Regions from separate parts of the Homo sapiens genome. Here region 2 is linked to region 1. Evidence: promoter capture Hi-C in 16 types of primary human blood cells and fetal thymus (Javierre and others, 2016). All regions are on one chromosome and are shown on one strand. Each heading gives the region's core, a stretch centred on a gene start or on the middle of the fragment in contact. The rest is flanking DNA. Distances are from core to core; before and after follow the strand shown.

Region 1 (3,855 bases), core at 498-2,997:
GGGTGCACATGGCACTAAATTGCAAGTGGGGATGGAAGGGCGCAAATATCTTAGGAGGGAGGACATCTTGACCCAAATAGACAGATTCCACTACAGTTCTATGAAAAAATCACATGTACATTACTTAGTAGGGTTAGCAAAGTCTAACTAATTTATAATACTGGGAAAACAAAGTAGCTTTATCACAGAGTCTGAACTGAGATAATTATAAAATACATACCTAGTCTATACATTGCTTGTAGAAGATTCTCAGTAAAATCTTTCTGATAGAATAAAAATTAAACGCTATCAGTTTCAACATAACAGAAAATTTAAGCTGCGAATGCTCGTAAAGAAATTAGGTAAAAATAATGGAGAACAAAACCCGCAATCGGCTTATCAATCGGCTTACTGTTGACACGCCACGCCACTCAGAATAGTATCTAATTTTCTTGATCCCTTATCTCAGGTAAAGCTATTGACTCGGGGAAATAGGTTATGCGGAAACCATGAAAGTTTCTAGTCTGGCCGACCCTAGGTTCAACACTCTATTATTCCAGACAAGCGATGAGCTCCTGTCGCTAAATTTCAACATCCCTGTCTGTCAAATGGGAATAATAATGATTCTCTCATTGGGTGGCTGTGAGAGGTGAGTGAAACAAGACGGAAATTTGACCCAGGAAATATCTGTACCTCTTACTTTAAAGAACAGAATTAAAAAATAATAATAAATGATCAGAAATTAAGGTAGAATAGAGTGAACACTAATAGCGGGAAATAGCTAATTTGCAGGTGAGGTGGCTGAAAGGCTCCTACGCTTGAAGTGTTTGCTGGATGCACAGGAGATCTGGGATACATCCCGAACTCGGCAACAGGACCAGCTCCTTTCCTCAGGGTTACAGAACAGCCAGGTTCCAGTTCAGGTCTGGGAATCTACCCATCCAGAGTTTGCGCCCTTTTCGTTTTGCAATTTAAAACCGGGTTGGAGGGGGAAGGAGTGAAGGCAGCATGCGGAGAAAGTAAATTACAGTTCAGGTGACAGGAACAAGAAAATCTCCAAGGTCAGGGTGGGGTGTCAACGAATTATGCAAAACACTGCGGAATGAGGAGTCACAAACGCCTTGCAAAGAATTCTGAATTTTAGAAGCTCTTTGCAGAACCCCCTTCAGCCCGCTCCAAGCTGCCTTGGGTCCCTTTCTAGGCTGTCAGACTTCGCCTTCCTTTCCTCCTTGTTTTTCCCAGCAACCAAAGCATCTGAAGAACATTTTTTTCCTCCGTAAATCTGAACAAATTTCCTTGCAGCTTTCCTTGCAGAAGCTTTTTTATCGCTTTAACAAAACTTTCCTCTGCTTCTCTAGGGAGAGCCTAGTATTAGAGCTGCCCGACAGGCGGGACCCCGAAATCGGGGCAGCTCTGGCTTAGTCCAGGCTATTCGAGTGGGCGCCTGAACTGGAGGCGCCGTCTCCACCGGGATGGGGATCCTAGTGCAGGCAGACGCCTGGCAGGACTCGGCGAGCTGGGGTCCCCACCGCGGTAGCCAGAGCAGAAACCCGAACCCCAGCCAGAGGGGCCGCGCGCGGGGAGGGGTGCGCGCTAAGCCAGCGTGGCTTCCGCAGGAGCTATTTTTAGCGGTGCGTGCCTCCCCCCGCCCCCGGCGTGGTAGCCTCCGGCTCGCGGCGCCCCACGGCTCCTCTCAGTCTCCCCCGCCGCTGCCGGCTCTTGGTAGCTTCCACGCGGGCAGGTCCGGAAACTGAGCATGTCTGCAAGCGCTCAGCGGCGCCGGCAGCAGCGGGGCTAGAGCTGGGCTGCGTCAGGCTGAGCCCATTCACCTCGCGGCCACAGGAGCTCAGCGCCGGCGCCGCGCCGCCCAGCCCCGCCGAGAGGGGCGCACTCGCCGCCGCGGGGCCCGCCGCCGCTCACCGCAGCCCCCTCCTGGCGACCCGCAAGTAAGTTTGTGAGGCTGCTGGGCGTTAGGGCGAGGGCTTGGCGCCCGGGGGAGTCCAGGAGGGATAGCGAGAGGCGCGGCTGGCGCCCGGGAGAGCCGGCTGGCCTCTGCCCCCTGTGCCTGGCGCCTCTCCGAGCCACTTAGCCAATTTGAAAGCGGGTGGCCATTGGGATGCTCGAGCGGGGACGACGGGCAGAGCAGGAGGGCAGAACTAGCTCCAGCGGGGGCCCAGAGGGCGGACTTGGGAAGAAGGAAAGACCGCGCGGCGAGGGAGGAGACCGGGCGGCGAGGGAGGAGACCGGGCGGGGAGGCTGGGTTTGGGGCGCGGGAGCCCGGCCAGGGACAGCCGCAGAAGGAAAGTGGGGGTGTCGCCGGGGGATAGAGTGGGAGCAGCGTGAGAGCAGTGTTGGGGGCGCAGAGTGGAGGGCAAGCGTGTCTTGAACAGAACGGCAGGAGGATGGGTGGAAAGTGGGGCGCGTGGAAAGCGGATTTGGACGAGAGCAAAGGACGCCGGTGGAAGGGACAGTGGGCTCCGGAGGGGCGAGTGGATTCGGATAATTTGGGGAATCAGTAAAAGGCTAGGGGGCACATCATGATGGAGTCAGCCTGGAATCTGTCTCCCGCTAGAGTACCCGAGGCCACATGTTGGGAACTGGCTGGGGAAAGGATGGATGTAGAAAGTGGCCTGGAGGGCCGACTGGAAAATCGCTGAGGGATTTGGGTGAAGAGGGGGGGAGCTGTGCAGTATCGGGCGGAGGAACTGGGCTGCTGGTAGGGCCTGAAAGGTTCAGGAGAGGGTTGGAGGCTTCCCCGTGCCGCCCCTTGAATAGTGATTTAGTACTGTTATCTGAGGTTCACTTTCACCCCTGGCTCCTCCTCCGTCTACTACCCGGCTTGGACGCACCTCGGCTCGCTGTAGGCGAGCTTTAGGAGATTTAAATAGACATTAGGCAGTGGGGAAGGTAGTCGTTTACGGGGGGAGCTGCTCGGGCTTCCGTTCAGTGGTTCCCGGCACGCTCAGGGTGCAGTGTAGGGTCTGAATGTGTGTATTGCGGGGGTAGGGGGAGTGGTGTCAGTTCTAGGCCACAGGAATTCGTGGTCTGGCCCCAGAGGTGCGGTGTTTTTGGCCGGGAAGTCAGGCAGAAGTCTGCAGCGTGCAACTCGCAGCGGGGCGTGTGTGTGCGTGTGTGCGCGCGCGTGTGCATGTTTCCGGCCCGGGGTCGCGTGTGTGGCTGCAGCCTGTCTCCGTGACAAGAAGATCCAGGGATCTACGGGCGGCACGGGGAAGGGATTAAGGGGAACATACTTCCCTACGTCTTTTCTGCCTCCTTTTCCCAGGGTAGCATTCTTTGCTTATCCAATGATGCCTCTTTCTAACCTCTCCCTCTCCACTTACATCCCAAACCTGATGCGGGTCTTCTCTGATTCGGCACTCTAAGGAGGACTCAGCCGCCGGCTGCGACCACCGTGGACTCCCTCTATGGAAGGGAATCCTGGGAGTCCCGGCCGTCAGAGGGGTTCCCAAATCCAAAGGGTCCATCTCCAAGGCGTCACTCCAGGGGTCCGCGGTTCACTTTGCTGCCCCTTGCAGGTGATGCTGTGATTGTTGCCTGCGGACTGGGAAGCACGATGGCTCCAAAAGGCCAGCGGGGCCGAGAAGCAGGGACAGAGACCAGCATTTAAGGGATCTCTGGTGGGGGCCTCCCTGGAGTTCTCCACATGTAAATATAGCGAAAAAAGAAAACACTACGTTACTAGAATAAACACGTCCTAAAATTTCTGTGCAAAAACACCTTTTTGAACAGCAAAGATTTCACCCACCAAAACAAGGAAGCAAGAAGCTTCCACAGTGTGCAGGATCCGAAACAGGACCGGCCCGGCGTTGGGTGAGAGTGGGGGAGGGGTTGTCGGCTTCTCCATCCAGCTTGCCA
Region 2 (3,855 bases), core at 953-3,452, 590 kb after region 1:
AGGTAATAGCAAAGCCGTGTGTATTGAACCAAGGAGGAAATATTGTGGTTTTAAAAATGGACATGAATTATTTAGATGGTTAAGATCAAAGTGAGTTTTTACCTAAATATGTAAATTATTGAAGCAATTTCAAACAAAATTACCAGAAAACTATACTTGATCTGGTTAGATTGGAGGAACATACAGAATCTATGATGTTTTCTTAACTTCTTTAATATCTATGGGTCAAAATATATTTTATTTAGGTAGTTTGTTTAGTTTTTAAAAAATCTATAAATCATTAAAATCTATAATGGTTAGGTTTGAAACAAAAAAGGCTGTTGATAATAAACAGTGAGAGAAGATCAGGTAGAGAAGCACATATGTATAAAGTACATAAGTGCTTCACCTTTGGCATTTTTACTTTGTATAAACATCACAGGAGCAGAATGGGGTGGGCCAGGTTTGTGGCCAAATAAATGTGAGCATAACCATTTCCCACCTCTTCCTACTCCTTCTGTATCAACACAAACCTGTACCACTCTTAATTTTATTCCCTTCCAGAATCTTTTTTATATGTAGAGGGGCAGAGAATCCCTTTCTCTACATTCACTGTTGATTTTTTTGTTTGTTTTTGTTTTTGAATTTAAGAAACAGTTTTTGCTGTGTTGCTCAGGCTGGACTTGAACTCCTGGACTCAAGAGATCCTCCTGCTTCAGCCTACCAAAAAGCTGGGATTACAGGTGTGCCCCACCATGCAAGCGATCGATTATATCTGGTGATGCTTTGGGCCTCTGTGGTGTTCCGCACACAGTAGATGCTGTCTGTGTGAATGCGGAGTGAGGCAGCGCCTCTGCCCTGTCCTTTAATGTCCTTCATGGGACGGTTGACTCCTTAGCATTTTTATTCTTTTGCAACCTGTGTTCTCTTTACTGAGTCCTTTGAAACATCATAGGTCTGTTTCTCTGGAACAATCAGTTCACTTCAAGTCTGTTCTGTTGCTTGGCCCACAGCCCTGTGCCTCTCCATCTTCTATCTCATTTGCCTTTTCGGTACAGCTCTCTATCCTTCCAGAGGTCTCAAATTCCAAACACACAGCTGTCTTTTCATTTCATTGTTGCTCACTGCCAGCCAGATAGTAAGGATACTTACATCATTACTCACCCATTTTCCATGGGAGGATTTTAATGGGTGCGAATATACACCCTGGGATTTACAGAATTGTTAGAACATGACGTCACGGGTAGCACACAACCAAAGACGAAACAGCGCTGTGGAGGCAGTTTCCTCAGTGTGGAGTGGATCATCTGCGCACCAGGTGGTATTTATTGCTCTAGTTGTTTCAGTTCCTATTTGACAGGGCATAGATCTGTACAAATGCTAAGGCTGCCAATCTCACAATCTCCTTCAAAGCTAAAGTTTCCTTAAAACAGCCACCATGCTGTATAACATCACTACGTGCCAGGCATTCTTGCAGATTTATTTATTTTATGCTCATAGATAAATTTATTTTATGCTCTCAGCCCTACGAGGAAAAAACTGTCATTATCCCTATTGTAGAGATGAGACCATTAAAGCTTATGAAATACTTCCTTCACCACAGCCCCAGAGGGCCTTCTCCAAAGCAGGCATCTAGGTAACAATACTCCTAAGAGGGGTGGAGCCAGGATTTGAGCCTGGGCAGTCGGGCCCCGGAATCCGTGGGCAGAACCTTTATCCTCTGGTGTATCAAGATGCCTTCTGCTGGTGAACTCCTCTTGGGGTTGGGGTGGGAGGAACATTTTATAGGCTTCATTGGCTTTGGAATGCTCTAACATGCTCCAGACGTCAACTTGAATGCCAAGTTCAGAATCTCAAGCAGAATGTTCTCATGCTGTCGTTTTTTTTTTTTTTTTTTTTTTGAAACAGTTGACCTGAATAGAGTGTTCCTCATTTAAAGATAAGAAATCAGATAAAATAAATATTGTACTTAAGAAAGATTGTACAGTGTAAAGAATGAGAACTTTTTTTTCAAATTGTAGAGGAAAATTCTGAAAAATACTAAAGCAAAGTTTATAAGCTTTTCTGTGTAAAACACAGAAAACTTCTATAAGAAGATGCTTAGCATATACATATAAGACAAGAAAATATAAAAAAGGAGTGGCTTTTGTGGAGGTAAAAACAATAAAAATCATATACAAAACCGTAAATGATGTAGCATGACTTATAGTTTCAATAGAAGCAATGAAGGACATAATAAATATTAAAAATAACCTCAGAATCAAATCACTTGAACCTGGAAGGCAGAGGTTGTAGTAAACCAAGATCGTGCCACTGCATTCCTGCCTAGGAAACAGAGTGAGACTCCATCTCAAAATAAATAAATAAAATAAAACACATGAGAACATAAAGCTTTACTGACCTAAGAAACACCATTTATAGATAAAATAGGCTCATCAAATAACAAGTAAAATGGATTAAAACAACCCTTAGTCATACCCTGATGAATTGCTAAATTTCAGAGACAGCACTCTCTTTAAGTACCCAGGCAGAAAAAAAAAAAAACAACACAGAAGCATACCAGAGTAGTTACAAATGAACGGAAATGAAACTGGTCTCACATTTTTATTTATTTATTTATGTTTTTGAGGTGGAGTTTCACTCTTGTTGCCCAGGCTGGAGTGCAATGGCGCAACCTCGGCTCACTGCAACCTCCGCCTCCCGGGTTCAAGCGATTCTCTTGCCTCAGCCTCCCAAGTAGCTGGGATTACAGGCATCTGCCACCACACCCTGCTAATTTTTTGTATTTTTAGTAGAGATGGAGTTTCTCCATGTTGGCCAGGCTGGTCGAACTCAAACTCCTGACATCAAGTGATCCACCCACCTCGGCCTCCCAAAGTGCTGGGAGTACAGGCGTGAGCCACCGGGCCCGGCCCACACTTTACATTAGAGTTAGGCCAGATGTGGTGGCTCATGCCTGTAATCCCAACACTTTTGGAGGCTGAGATGGGAAGATTGCTCGAGGCCAGGAGTTCAGGACCAGCCTGGCCTACATAGTGAGATTCTGTCTCTATTTAAAAGAAAAAGAAAAAGAAAACATTAGCATTAGACTCTAAAGGCACAACCCATTATCCATTCTTGGGAAAAATTTGTGACCCAGTTTTTTGCTCTTTATCCAACGTATATGTGAAATGTGAAAATGTAAGTATATGAAATATAAAATAAAAAAGAAAGTCTCATAAAGTAAAAAATTCAAATATACCACCTATCTACTTTTAAAAAATTAATTTAAATATACTTTGGAATAAGACATAATAAAATAAAAAAGGACAAATAAGATAATAAAAAGATGGATATTAAATACTGAAAATAGTAACATATAGATGCAAGCCTAAGTTCTTACTGTAAACAAATACAAAAGTAGTTAAAACATAAAAACATGTCCAAAGAAAAATATATAAAATATATGCCTAAAAAAGCCATATTTTATAAATAAAAGAAAAACATGCTATATAAAATTTTATTTATAAAAATTCCAAGTAGGTAGAAGAGAATTAAGGGAAACAAAAACATGCTAATTTCTTATTTATGTGGGAGGGATGTTACATTCTTGATATTGATGATTGGAGAAGATGATTTCAAATACATTTAGAAGACACTTTAGATAACTTTTAATAAAAGCAGAGAAAATGTAGCAGATACACAAAGAAAAAGAAACAAGGTGATAGAAAAGTATAAACAAGAACTGTATTAAAAGACATACACATAAATAGCAACAAACTTGTCTGTAACTTAAATATAAACAGATTCTATTTTTAAATAAAAAAGAGAAGGAGGCCGGGTGCAGTGGCTCATGCCTGTAATCCCAGATACTCAGGGAGGCTGAGGCAGGATCAT

The links. The method cuts DNA at HindIII sites, captures the fragments that hold promoters and counts their contacts. A CHiCAGO score of 5 or more calls a contact.
Region 2: a fragment that was not itself captured here is called in contact with the fragment with the promoter of OXR1 in region 1 in 1 of 17 cell types (naive CD4 T cells); the score reaches 5.6 in naive CD4 T cells.

The regions. Positions count from the first base shown.
Region 1 is chr8:106,268,443-106,272,297 of GRCh38, forward strand. It overlaps OXR1 (oxidation resistance 1), which reads left to right and starts at 1,748. Exons shown (of 17, transcript NM_001198533.2): 1 at 1,748-1,925. RefSeq lists silencers at 1,473-1,722, 1,743-2,102. The HindIII fragment of the contact is 2,469 bases long and covers 1,295-3,763 here.
Region 2 is chr8:106,856,741-106,860,595 of GRCh38, forward strand. No RefSeq gene overlaps it. Among named protein-coding and RNA genes, the nearest start is that of ABRA, 88 kb to the left of the region's middle. The HindIII fragment of the contact is 332 bases long and covers 2,037-2,368 here.